Linked DNA regions of Homo sapiens: region 2 is linked to region 1. Evidence: promoter capture Hi-C in human tissues and cell types (Jung and others, 2019). All regions are on one chromosome and are shown on one strand. The core of a region is centred on a gene start or on the middle of the fragment in contact, and the rest is flanking DNA. Distances in the headings are between cores, read along the strand shown. Region 1 holds the start of KIF3A (kinesin family member 3A). Region 2 has its middle 5.5 kb from the start of SEPTIN8.

The links. The method cuts DNA at HindIII sites, captures the fragments that hold promoters and counts their contacts. A contact is called where the count stands out against the background at its distance.
Region 2: a fragment that was not itself captured here is called in contact with the fragment with the promoter of KIF3A in region 1 in 3 of the 25 tissues and cell types used here (lymphoblastoid cells, neural progenitor cells and thymus).

Annotation. Positions count from the first base shown.
Region 1 is chr5:132,732,013-132,739,577 of GRCh38, forward strand. KIF3A (kinesin family member 3A) reads right to left here and starts at 5,534. Exons shown (of 19, transcript NM_001300791.2): 1 at 5,402-5,534; 2 at 2,193-2,466. The coding sequence starts at 5,407. RefSeq lists an enhancer at 4,839-4,938 and a silencer at 5,089-5,398. The HindIII fragment of the contact is 7,994 bases long and covers 4,006-7,565 here.
Region 2 is chr5:132,779,289-132,786,213 of GRCh38, forward strand. It overlaps a transcript of SEPTIN8 not described here. Among named protein-coding and RNA genes, the nearest start is that of SEPTIN8, 5.5 kb to the left of the region's middle. The HindIII fragment of the contact is 4,380 bases long and covers 3,271-6,925 here.

The sequences.
Region 1 (7,565 bases), core at 4,284-6,783:
ATTCTTACAAGTAGAAAATCCTACAAAATTTACAAAAAACCCAAAACATAAAAAAACTACTAGAATTAATAAGTTTAGCAAAGTTTCAGGATACAAGGTCAATATACAAAAATCAACTGTGGGTACTAAGAGGGCAGTCATCAAAAAGACAGTAACAAGTGCTGGCAAAGATGTGAAGAAATCAGAAACCTCACACATTGCTGATGGGAATATAAAATGGTGTAGCTACTGTAGAAAAGTTTGGCAGCTCCTCAAAACATTAAACAAAGTTACCATGTGACCTAGTAATTCCACTCTTAGGTATATACCCAAGAGAAACTAAACATATGTTCACACAAAAATCTGTAAAAGAATGTTCAAAGTAACATTATCTGTAATAGCTAAAAAGTAGAAACAACAAATGTTCACCAACTAATAAATGGATAAACAAAATATGATATATCTATACAATATTATTCAGACATAAAAAATAATGAATTGCTGGCCTAGTGCAATGGCTCACGCCTGTAATCTCAGCACTTTGGGAGGCCGAGGCGGGTGGATCACAAGATCAGGAGTTCAAAACCAGCCTGGCCAATATGGTGAAACCCCGTCTCTACTAAAAATACAAAAATCAGCCAGGTGCAGTGGCTCACGCCTGTAATCCCAGCACTTTCAGAGGCTGAGACAGGCGGATCACAAGGTCAGGAGATCAAGACCATCCTGGCTAACACGGTGAAACCCCGTCTCTACTAAAAACACAAAAAATTAGCTGGGTGTGTTGGCGGGCGCCTGTAGTCCCAGCTACTCAGGAGGCTGAGGCAGGAGAATCGCTTGAACCCAGGAGGCAGAAGTTGCAGTGAGCCAAGATCACGCCACTGCAATCCAGCCTGGGCGACAGAGCAAGACTCCGTCTCCAAAAAAAAAAAAAAAGTAATGAATTGCTGATATATGTTTATATGTTACAATAGGGATGAAGCTTGAAAACACTGTAAGTGAAAGAAGTTATTCACAAAAGGCCACATAGCATATAATTCCATTTATAGAAAATGTCCAGAATAGGCAAACTCATAGAATAGATATAGACAGTAAATTAGTAGTTGCTGGGTTGGGGGAAGGGAGGTGGTAATGGATTGGGAGTGACTGACTGCTAATGGATACAGGGTTTCTTTTTGGAGTGATAGAAATGTTCTGGAAACAGACAGCGGTGACAGCTGTACGACATTGTAAATGTACCTATGAACTATAAAGTGTAAAATGGTTAAAATCATAAATTTGATATTTGAATTTTATCACAAAAGCTACCTAAAGAAATCAATTTCATCTCTATATATTAGTAACACACAATCCAAAATTGAAATTATGAAAGCAATCCTATTCACAATAGCATCAAAAAAATACTTAGGAATAAATTAATCAAAACAAGTGCAATACTTGTACACTAAAAGCTACAAAATACAGATGAGAGAAATTAAGATATAAATAAATGGAGAGAAGCTGGACATGGTAGCTGACATGGGAAATCCCAGGGCTTTGAAAGGCCTCAGTAGGAGATTGCTTGAGCCTAGGAGTTCAAGACCTGACTGAGCAACACAGCAAGACCCAGTCTTTACAAAAACAAAAAAATGAGCCAGGTGTGGTGGCGCACAGCTGTAGTTCTCATTACTCAGGAGGCAGAAGTGAGAGGATAGCTTCAGCCCAGGTTCAAGGCTGCAGTAAGCTATGACTGCACCACTGCACTCCAGCCTGGGCAACAGAGCAAGACCCTGTCCATAATTCATTAATGTTTCAACGTTTTAAATGAAGAGAAGTATCATGTTCATGGACTGAAGACTCAATATTGTCAGAATGACAATTCAACACAATCCCTATGAAAATCCTAGCAGGATAAACTTCAAAAACATTATTTGATGTGAAAGAAAACAGATAAAAAAGGTGACATATTATATGACATCATTTATATGACATTTCAAGAAAAGGCAAAATTATAGTGACAGAAAGCAGATCAATAGTTGCTTGGGGGTGGGTCTGCAAATGGGCATAAAGGAAATTTTGAGGATGACAAGGGTGTTCTAAAGCTGGATTGTGATGATGGTTTCACAACTGTATATATTTACTACACTCATCAAACTGCACAGCTGCAATATGTGAATTTATGGCACAGTAATTATGTCTCAATAAGGGAGTTTTTTAAAAAGTAAAGATTCACTTACCATTGTAGCCTTCAAGTACAGAATCAATAATAGGTCTTGCAGTTAAGTTATAAACATCAAGTTGTTTACTCTCTGGTCCAAAAACAGTATCAAAAGTAAATGTCTTTGGAGGTTCATTGGAAGAATCAGTCTTATGTACAGTGATAGTTCCCCTCATCTCATCCACACTGACAGCCTGTTTGTAGCACATTGATTTCTCTCTCTCATTGAGGGGCCGGCACCTAACAACAACCTTCACATTATCGCAGCTTTCTGGCTTCTCTGATTTATTGATCTGTTGGAGATAATATTTACAAATAATGAAAAGAACATTAATTTTTACCCTCATCAGATTAAATTTATAAACTTTAAAAGGCTACTTTTCCAACTCAGTGCCTTGCACACATTAAACACTTCACAGGTATTTGTTAAATGCAATTAAAGATCTTACATATAGCTGAAAAGTTTATTAAAAGATACAAAAAGGAAAATCGTTTCTTTTAAAATGTAAAAGGGAGAGAAGAGCTAGTTCACATTTGTGGCAAAGGCTGTACAAGCAGAAACTGAACCAGTATATTATAGATCATCTTTTTGCACAAAAGTCTCTGACCCAGCGTTTCCTGCCTGTAGGAAAACACATGTGAACATGGTTAACAACTTTAACTCAAGAAAATAGTAGGTCCTTTGTTTCCCCTGAGACTTTAGTTTTATTTCCTATCACGCATCTGTAAAATGGTTTTTATCATGTAATATATCCATATATGGCTTATCTTCTCTACAGAAAACAATAATAAGATAAAGACAGAAATGAAAGTCTAATGGCAAAGAAAAATGCCTTAGTATTACCTAACCTTATAAGCATTTGTATATGTAAAGTTTCCATTTCTGAATTTTTTTTTTCTTATTTATGAGGCACAGTCTCACCCTGTCACCCAGGCTGGAGTGCAGTGGCGTGATCTCAGCTCACTGCAACCTCTGCCTCCCAGGCTCAAGCGATTCTGCTGCCTCAGCCTCCCCAGCAGCTAGGATTACAGGCGTCCATCACCATGCCCAGCTAATTTTTGTATTTTTAGTAGAGACGGAATTTCATCATGTTGGCCAGGCTGGTCTCGAACTCCTGACCGCAAGTGATCCACCCACCTCGGCCTCCCAAAGTGCTGAGATTACAGGCATGTGCCACCGCACCCCGTCATTTCTGAAATTTTATGATTAAGAAAATATAATGAAACACAATCCTATTATTGAAGTGAAAAGGACAGTTTAGTTGAACAGATACTTGTTAAATTCCTACTGTTTCAGATTCTCTTCTAAGCATTGAAGAGAAACAAATATGAGTCATTGTCATTGACTCTGACATTGTCACTGACAAGTAACAGATTATATCAGTACAATACACTTCTATCTATCTCTCATCCTATTCCTCTCATCTATTCATCACCCTAGTCTAAATCACCATCATCTTGGCCCTGGATTACTGCCTCCTAACTATACTCCTGAATCTAATCAGATTGCCCTACTGCCTATTCTCCAAATAGCAGTCAGTGTCAACACACATCTAATCATGTCACTCTCCTACTTAAAAATTCTTCAGTGGTTTCCCATAGATCTCAGAACAAAAACCAGAATCCTTAAGGTGGTCTGTAAGGTCTGGCTTCCACCCACGTCTGCTTCACTGGGCTTATTTCACAAGATATTCTGCCTGGCTCATCCATGCCACAGCCACACTGAGCTGCTTGGCCTTTTCTTGTCACCATGCTCCTCACCACTGGCCTTTCCATGTGCTGTTCCTTCTACCTAGAACCATCTTCAATCCCCTCTTCACTTAGTTAACATCTACTTATCCTTCAGAACTCAACAGCCACTTCACCTGGGAAGACTTCCTGACTAGGTCAAATACTCTTATAGGCTCAGAGAGCACCCTGCTCTCCCCTTCCTGGACACAAATTTTACTTTTGCTTGTTCCTTATTTGATTAATGTCTTTCTGTCTACACCAGAGGTTGCAAACAGGTAGTCAAGAGGCTGAATTCAGCCCACAAATTTCTTTTGTTTGGTTCATAGTATTTAAAGAGCTTTTGAATTAGTTGCTAAAATTGAGAAATTTCACAAAAATAATTTCTAAAGTCTCTTCTTGGGAGGAAAAAAAATGACCTGTTATCATCTGCAGACCATCATTCTTACATGGCAATACATTCCAATTCACCAGAATCTACTTCTCTCTATTGTAGGATACCCACCCACTTCATTATTAAGGTTTTGTGTCTTACGTCTGTAAATATGTATGATTTTCACCTCTGCCCAAGAAGGCAAGCCTCTCTCTTTCCAAGTTCAAGAACCTGACTGGTGTTGCTCAATGTTGTATCTTCAGGGCCTAGCATGTGGTTGGTGCCCAATATTTACTGAATTAAAACTTGAAAGCAGTGAACAGAACAAATATAGAGCATTTAATCTTAAATGTCAAGCACTGTCCTTCTAGTCTCCTGTGTATTATTTCACGCGGATAACAACCCCATGAGGTAAAGTTTACATGGGAACTAAGGACCCAGACAGATTAAATAATTATCCGAGGCCTCACAACCACTAAATAAGCGGCCATGGCTCAATTTTCCTCCATGACCCCTAATAAGGGGTCTTAGAAGGCCCCATTATTAAGTTCACGATAACAATCTGTGAAATCCTGGAAGATAAACATAACACCGCCACACACACAAAGACACCTACGGGTTTCATTCTGCATCATAAGCTAAAGCGCCACAAGAGCAATGACAGCTCAAGGCTAGGAGACTCGGAGTATGGGGCCTGGAATAGGGGCAGGCAGCCTTCGCTCCGCTGCCTCCCTGCGCTTGCTCCGAGGCGCAAAGGCCTCACCAGGTGTGCAGCATCCAAAGAGCCCCACCGTGGCCACCCCCAGACGCCCCGCTCAGCAGGAAGGGCTGCGAGCCAGAGCGCATCCTCCAGCACAGCGCCTTTTTGATAAGCGGCGCAGGCCCCACGGGATGCAGCAGCGACGAGGGCGGCAGGGCCTGACCCCAGGTCCCTGTCGAGGCCGGCCGGACCCCCGCGGCCCCGGGGCTGACCAGCCAGGCTCTCCAACCACCTCCACCGCACGACCGAGCCTGCCCCGCCCCACCCAGGCCGCCTGCCGGCTCCGCGCCTCCATGGCAACGGCCGCGCCCCCGGGCCAGGCCGCTAGGATGAGAAGAAACCCCAGAAGCGAAGCGACTCTCCTCACCGGCATCTTGGCCCCCTCCCGTGCCCGGCGGACGTCCCCGCCCGGGGTGCAGCCCAGCGACACCGGGTGCGCAGAAAGGATGGCCAGAGACTACCGAAACACCTCGTTGACGCTCTCGAGACTGCGGCTTCTCGGGCGAGAGCGCCCAGTGCGCAGCCGCATTCCGAGCTCGCCCCGCCCCAAGCCCAGTCTCAGGCTCTCTCGGCCCTTGAATTACGCCTGCGCGGAGGCTTTCCGAGTCCATCTCCTAGGACGCCAGACTGAGGCCGCGCGTGCGCAATGCTGCCATTCTGCTGCGCTAGAAATGTGGCACGCACTGAGGCGGAGGTAACCTGGCAGCCCGGGGTTGGGAGGAGGAGCTGCTCTTAGGCCCGTCTTCTGGCCCTTGCAATACCCGGAATATTAAAATCAGTAATAGCAATTGTACATTTTGTCTCATCCGAAGAATTGAAGACCTTACCTACCTGACCTCGCTTGATTGCTAACTTCCTCATGACCTGTCTTACCATTAGAAAGTGAGCTCTCTTAAGGAGATTGTTAGTATTCTCACATCTATCTCCAGAGCCCACACAGAGCCTGGCACAGAGTGGGATTTTTATACGTGTTGGTCAAAGAACCAGTGATCCGTCCATCCTCTTTCTAGTCCACTTGAATGTGTAATGGGCATTTCAAGTTAATCATGTCCAGAATTGAAATCTTGATCCCCCATCAATCGCCCCACTACCCACTCCACCCCCATCAAAAAATTTAAAAGGGCTCTCTCTCATCCCTCTCAGACTTTCTTCATCTCAATATGTGGGAGCTTAATTCCGACAACTGCTCAGGTCAAAATTGCAGTCTCTTTCATACACAATATTCTATCTTTAAATACAGCCTGTTGTATCTATCTTTGTAGTGGAACCAGAATTTGGCCACTTCTACCACCACCATCGTCTCTCACGTGCATTACTACAATCGCTCAGAACTGGTTTCCTTGATTGTGTGTCCTTGTCCCTTTTCAGTGTGCTGGACAGGAGCCAGAGTGCTGGTGCTAAAACATGAATCAGATCTTCTCTTTTCTCTGCTCAAAACCCTCCATTGATTTCCCATCTTACAAAGCTAAAGCCACAAGCCCTACAATCCTCCCTCTTGCTTCTTCTGCACCAGCCCCACCTGGCCTCCTTGCTTCATCCAACATTCCCGTCGTGCTTCCATCTTAGCATGCAAGGGCTGTGAGCTTGCAGTAGGAACTGATAGAAATAAAGATAAAGCATTTTACATAGTGCCAGTGTACTGTTCTACATGCTTTCGTTTTTTAATTCATTTAATCCACACAATAACCTTTTGAAATAGATACTATTTATTATTATTTTACAGATAAAGTAATTGAGGCACAGGACCATTAAATAACTTTTCCAAGGTCATACATATAAACAATGGCAGAGCCCAGGTCCAAACCCAGGCAGCCTAGACAGCTCTTTCCCTAAAAAACCACCTGACCACTCACCTCCTCCAGAAAGTCTTTGTTCACATAACCCCAGTGAACCCTAACATGATTTCCTTATTTAAAATTTCAACCTTCAGCCCAAACTCTTCTTTTTTTCCCTCCCCACTTTATATTTCTCCATAGTACCTATCACCATTCAATATTTTATATATACACACATACAAGCTTTACTGAGATATAATTTACACACCATACCATACAATCACCGATTTAAATTGTACAAGTCAATAGTTCTTACTATATATGGAGTTGTGCAACCATAACCTAGAACATTTTTATCATTCCAAAAAGACATTCTGTACTCATAAGCCACTCCCCCTTGCTCTCTGCAACCCTCCTCCCACCCCACTCCCAACATCCCAGACCTAGACAACCCACCAATCTACTTTCTATCTCTGTGGATTTGCCTATTCTGGACATTTCATATAAATGAAATTACACAATATGCAGCCTTTTGTGAGTAACTTCTTTCACTTACAAAGTTTTCAAGCTGTATCCCTATTATAGCATATATCAGCAATTTGTTACTTTTTATGGCTGAATAATATTCCATTGCATGGCTATAACATGTTTTTTTACCTATTTGTCATTGATGGATATTTGGGTTGTTTCTACTTTTTGCCTATCGTGAATAATGCTGCTACAAGTTTTTGTATGAGCCTATGTTTTCATTCCTCT
Region 2 (6,925 bases), core at 4,211-6,710, 47 kb after region 1:
GAGTGTTTCGTATACACCTAGAGGTTAGTTCATAGATTTTACCACAAAAAGATTGGTCTCACCGTCAAATAACTGGGGAATGCTGAGTTCCATACACAGACAGGGTTCTGTAGAAGTCCTCAGCTTTTGATCAGCTAATATGCATTTTCTGTGCAAAAGAAAGGGGAATATACAGCTCTACCCACACTTTGTTGCCCCTTGTCTCTACCCTGCATACATACCCAGCACCACACTGAACTTGAACATGACAAGACTTCGCTTCAGGAAATGCTGCCCTCCAGGCCTCTTGCTTGTCTTTTACTTTTGTTTATACTTTCTTTTGTCATGTAGAAGTTTAAATTTTTGATGTTGTCAAGTGTACTTGTTATTTTATTTATTATTTTTACTTTGGCTTCTAAAAATAAAGACCCTTCCCTAACTTCACAAAGATATTGTGTTTGTGAGAAAAGAATAAATTTTCTTTAAAAACTTTTTTTTAACTCCTTCACATCTAGGCAATTTGTGTATGTGTATGCCAAACCAGTTGTTTCATCTTTCCCCTCTGATGTACAATGCAAATGGTATCACAGACGACATTTCTGTATGTGTGTGCAGGTTGTGCATCAGTTAGGATTATGTTCAGCTGCTTCAACAAGATAGAAATGTCTTCCTTTCTTACATTGTCCAGGTAGGTAGTCCAGGGCTTATGTGACTCTCTACGCACACTTTCTTCTTGTTGCTTGGCCTTACGTGGTCTTGCTCTCATGGTCCAATATGGTGATATCTGCATTCCAGGCAGCAAGAGGCAATGATAGTAATACAGTGCAAATGAGCCAACTCTCAGAGGATTCCAGAAGCTGCCATGTGGCACTTCTGCTTACATGCTATTGGCCAGAGCTGGAAAATGGGGTCTTTATTCTGGCTATCATGTGCACAGCTAAAAAGTCCATAAAATGTTAGAGGAGAGCAGATGTTGGGAGGCTGCAGCCATCTCTGCCAAGTCTGTTTCTGGACTATCCGTTCCAGTGAGATGCCTGAAAATCTTTTTTTCTAATACTATGAAATTTTTGTTTATTAGAAAATTAAAATATAAAAAATGACAAGCAAGAAAATAATCAGCCATACACCAACAGAATCAGCCACAGATAATTTCTTAGCCTTCCACCCCTTTTAAAGAAAAATTTCATGTTTTTAAGTGATATATGTACATTTTAAATAATTTGAATACAGAGAATATTAAATTATCCCAATCCCACCACTCAGAAATCACCATCATGAACACTACATTTATATCATTCCAGAAAACTTTCTATGTATATTTACTGATAGGAGGAAAGATAATAGAGATACTTTATAGGAATCTGGGCCATAATACAGATGCTATTTAAATTAAAAGTACTTAATTTTACTTGAATTTAAAAGAAGACAAAGAAGTTGAAACTGAAGAAAGAGTTGAACTTCAAAGAATGTTTCTTGACCACAAGAGATATTACTTCCTAAAAGATACCTCTGAGGTTAAACAAAAATTGTAAAAAACACTGAGGTTAGAGTTATTTTCTTAAAATGCACATTTCAGTGACATATGAGTGTGTGTGTGTGTATGTGTGTTCAGTGTGTTCATTGCTTTGAAAAATTCGCTCTCATGATTCTTTCCATCTCTGACTGACCTGCTTCCTAAGTTTAGTTACATATTATTGTTACATTATCCATGTTTATAACACTCATATTCTGTTTTGTAAACATAACTTCATAGTTAGTTGATAAATATTCTGAATTAAAATGAATTCAATGGTCATCGTTAGTCTTCTTACCAAGGCTTTTTTTTCCATTTGCAAGTTCTTTATTTTTGTTCATCTCTTCATGGACTAAATTAATCGTTAAGCTGTTTTTCCAGGAAGTATTTTCGATGTTTAACAGTATCTGTCTGTGCCTCGATACTGGAACCATATCTTGGCTGGGTATAATATCCTTGAGTCTCATCTTTCCCACTGAATGTGGTAGGTTTTGCCTCTTTTTCTTCTGGGAAGAAGCCTGAGGCCAGCCTGAATTTTCCCCTTTATAGGAGACATTTTTTTCTGCTTGAATGCCTAAAGAAGTCACTCTTCATCTTTTTTTTAGGTTCAATAACTTAACTAAGATGTCTTAGTAGTAAACATTTCAAATCAAGCTTTTCTGGAATATAGTGTGTTCTTTCAATCTGCAGCTTTAGTTTTGAAATTTACCTGTTTGTTTCTCCATTAAAGGAATTCTCTTTTGGTTCTGTTTCTGGTTTTCCTTCTTCAGGGATTTTAATTAATTTTTATATCAGATCAGCTTTGTCTGTCTTTCATTTCTACTAATTCTAATTGCTTTAATCTCTTTGCCTAGTTTAGCTGCCCTAATTCAGTAATTTGAGTTTCAATGGGGCCCATTCTCTTTCTTGTTAGTTCTAATTTGTTTGTCTATAATAATATGTTTTTGTCCTCAACTTGTTGCCTTTCCATCCCATTCTTGTGTTCTAGCATCCTATCGTTGAGCCCCCACTTTATTAAATTCACATTCTTAAGTCATTTCATAATATGAAGCAGTTGCAAGAAATTCCTTAAGTTTTTTTAGGGGTGGGGAGGAGCCCTCATCTTTCGCTCTCTGTTTTTCCCCTTATTTATCATTAATATTTTGCTGCCATGTGTTTGCATCCATTTCTTTTCTTTCTGGTTTGGTGGCTCTGTCCAGACCTTCTTTATGCCACTGTAACACAGCAGCAGGGAGAAGAGCTTACTGACGTCTCCCCACTGTTTGAGACCCTATTTTTCCCTCTGAGCTAAGCAGAAGGCTGAGTATTTAGGTTCTCTACACTTTTTGGTAGTCTGGATGGGACAGCTGAGCTGAAGCAGCCTGTGGTCTTTGTTGGAATGCCTCAGCATGCTCCTGTCCTGAGAGCCTTTTTAATGTCCTGTACGGGCTCATGCCACCTAACTGGGGTGGAAAGCAGGACTCTATACACCTTTTCTGAGGAAGGGGCAGAACTCAGGATCAGTTTCCCCATGGGGAGTGTTGTTCTGGAGACTTTATTTCCATCAGCCAAGTCAGCTTGGTGGCTCGTGCTCCCTGCTTCCCCATCTCCCCCCGGCATGCTTTTTAATACAGCTCATTCAGAAGAGGAAGAAGACAGGGCATGACTCACATCTGCTTCCTTTCAGATTCAGGAGCCATAGGAAGAATGTTCAGGTTTTGGTCCATTTCTGGGCACTCGGGACAGGGTAGGGAGCAGAGACGTGTGGTGCCATTCCTTGCCACTCCAGAATCCTCTACGTCTTTCTTTAGATGTCAATTTGGAAGTTTATTGTGTTGGTTGCTGATAATAGATTTTACTCCCTTGTTTTATTTACTTTCTTTGATTTTGTTAGGAATTGAGAAAGAGAAGTTCTGTGGGGAAGCATTCATCCATAATCTGTAAGCAGCAGTGTCCCTACACATTTTTATTTTTATTATTTATCAATTTATTGAGACAGAGTCTCGCTCTGTTGCCCAGGCTGGAGTGCAGTGGCTTGAGCTCGGCTCACTGCAACCTCTGCCTCCCAGATTCAAGCAATTCTTCTGCCTCAGCCTCCCGAGTAGCTGGGATTACAGGCACCCGCCACCATGCCCAGCTAATTTTTGTATTTTTAATAGAGACGGGGTTTCACCATGTTCACCAGGCTGGTCTTGAGCTCCTGATCTCAAGTGATCTGCCCACCTTGGCCTCCCAAAGTGCTGGGATTACAGGCGTGAGCCACCATGCCTGGCTTTCTGCACATTTTTAAAGCAGCACATGTTACTTCTGGCTTTGAGGTCTGACTTGTCCCAATGACTGCCGAAACAATACAAAACAAGAACAGACTCGAAGAGCCTACTGAATTCCAAAGTCCCGAGATGTCTCAGCTGGCAGGCAAACTCTCCCATTTTGAAAACCAGAATTCTTAAAAGCCAGATTGAGGAATTACAGTCTCATGGCAGTGCTGCCAGGTTGAGGCCTAGATCAGGAGTCCTGGCCTGATGGAAAAGTTAGCCTAGAGAGAAGGAACAATTTTCTTATGCGTGCCAGAAAGATTGGCAAGAGTTTGTACTGAGGCTGGGTACAGGGAGCCATGTGGCACAGAAGGAACAGCCAGCAGAAAGCAGCCCTTCCCTGGCCTCATGGGTTTATAGCTGTCCTGTGCCTCGGAATTCCACAGTGTACCCTCATGCTGCAGGATGCCTCCCTGCCTTCTACCAGAGCATTTAGCATGGATGTCCTGGAGACAGAGCACCAGGGACACCTTGGAAAGCCCTGGAAATGAGAATCTCTGCCTTTTTTCATAGAAGAGGCACGCCTAGCCCATGAGTCCCTGGGTTCCCTGAGACAGTCCTGAATCCAGGGTTCTCAGGGATGCAGCCAGGTTTTGTGGAGCCTAAAGCTTGTGGGATTTGGAAGGCTTTCTTTTAGGAAAAGAATACACTGGCATGGCATGGTGGCTCACATGTGTAATCCCAGCACTTTGGGATGCCATGGTGGGAGGATTGCTTGAGCCCAGGGGTTCCAGACCAGCCTGGGCGACATAGTGAGACCCCCATCTCTATGAAAAATTAAAAACTTAGCCGGGTGTGGTGGCACAGGTCTGTAGCCCCAGCTACTTGGGAGGCTGAGGTGGGAGGATCACTTGAGCCCAGGAGATCCAGGCTGCAGCAAGCTGAGATTTCGCCGCTGCACTCCAGCCAGGGTGGCAAAGCGAGACCCCGTCTCAAAAAAAAATTTTTTTTTAATTTAAAAGAATACACAGTTATAAAGACAAAATTAGATATGGACGTAATTACTTATTTAGAATGAGAAAAGAACAGGACTTAGAAGGGACACAAGCAAGTGAGTGACCTGGAAATGTAAGCCTCAAGTTTCATGAGGTCCAGGGTGCCCTCAGGGAATGGGCCAGAGACACCCACAGGTCTCCAGTCCCTGAGTCCACAGGGATCCCTGCAGCAACTCTATGGTCCAGAACTGCCAGCAGGGGAGCAGACCCCACTCCAAGCCTGGCCCAGAGGGTCTAAGGACAGGGCATTGACAGCAGCTTTACAAGGAGCTCCACGAAACTTATTCAAAGATTCTGCCCATGGCCTCCCCTAGAACCCTGGGCCTCTCCCAGGTGGAAGCATTCTGCTCTTTTAACGTAGTTGTGGCCAAAAAGAATTCTCTGGGCCAGGTGCAGTGGCTCATACTTGTAATCCTAGCACTTTCAGAGGCCAAGGCAGAAAGATGGCTTGAGCCCAGGAGTTCTAGACCAGCCCAGAAGACATAAAGATATCTCATCTCTACTAAAAATTTTAAAAATTAGCTGGGTATAGTGGTGAACTCCTGTAGCCACAGCTACTCAAGAAGCTGAGGCAGGAGAATCACTTGAGCCTGAGAGATTGAAACAGAAGTGAGCTATGATCAAGCCACTGCACTCCAGCCTGGGTACAGGGTGAGACCCTGTCTCTTAAAAAAAAAAAAAAAAAAAAGGGGGGCCGGGCACGGTGATTCATGGATGTAATCCCAGCACTTCTGGAGGCTGAGGTAGGCAGATCACCTGAGATCGGGAGTTTGGGACCAGCTTGGCCAATATGGCAAAACCCCATCTCTACTAAAAATACAAAATTAGCTGGGCATGGTGGTGTGCACCTGTAATCCCAGCTACTCTGGAGGCTGAGGCAGGAGAATTGCTTGAACCTGGGAGGTGGAGGTTGCAGTGAGCATGGATCCCGCCACTGCACTCCAGCCTGGTGACAGAGTGAAACTCCATCTTAAAAAGAAAAAAAATTATCTGGAAAAAAAATATGTCAACTGTCCCGTAACCAAACAGCTACAATCTATAGAAGTGGAGGACTTCAAGATGCTCCCATTACAGAGAGGCCACCCAGCTCCAGCTCATATCACCATGGTCTCCATCTCTGCAGCCATGAACAGGTGGGATACAAGCAGGTGAGAGGAAGCCCCACATGGTGACACCACTAGGCAAAGATGAGGAAGTTAAAGTGTTTTGCTTTTTTGGAAAAATGTGACCTTCAGAGGGCATGAGGGAAGTGCAGAGAGAGAAAGAATGCTTCATGCTGTTTAAGGTGCTAGAAGAAGCCATCAGGAAAGGAGACAGTTAACTAAGGACAGGCAAATCAGCAAGGCAAGATTTAAAACGAGAGGGGTCTGCAGAGCAATGCTTTTCAAACTGGGTCAAAAGGGGCCATGGGGGACAAACACTCATCTGGTGGAGCTCTACAACCTCCCCAAACAGCGCCATCCCGCCTGCTTCATATATAAGGCTTTCATTTCAACAAAGGGTTTTTCCGCAGCTAAAAATAAGTCTGACAAACCACCTCTCTGGGGGAAATGTATTCAGACAGACAAAATGGGTCTGGAAAAGGCTGCTGCTGGGAGGAATCCAGGGAAACCACTGAGTCCGAGTTCAGACAGCTGAGAGGTAGAGTTTTACCTAGAACCAAGGGGCTGGCCAGGGAGATTGGAAGAAAGGATTCAAGGGAGCTAAGAGAAATTACTCTAAGTTGAATTAGAAGTAGAAATGACGGTAAATTCACAATAAAGAAAACACACACCACAAGGCTGAGGCCATCTGACTGGGGAATGAAAATGGAGAAAGCTAAGGACCTGATTAACATACAGAATCCAGTCTAGATGAACTCATGAACAAGAGGCCAAGGCCCAGCACTCATCTGCTTGGTTCATATCACCTGTTTATTAAGTGTTCCTTGCCTGCTGGGGTGGGGAGCAGGGGGGCTGGATTGTGAAGGAGTGGTAACCAGGCAGAAGCCTTTGGGGAAGTGGAAGAAGGTTGAACGGAATACACCTCCATTCACGGCAGAACTTCTGCTGCAGGACTTGGGACTTGTTGATCCAGGACCTAGCGCAGTATGGGTTATGGGACCCATACCCACAGGCAAGATGGTATGGTGGTCAGAATAGTGG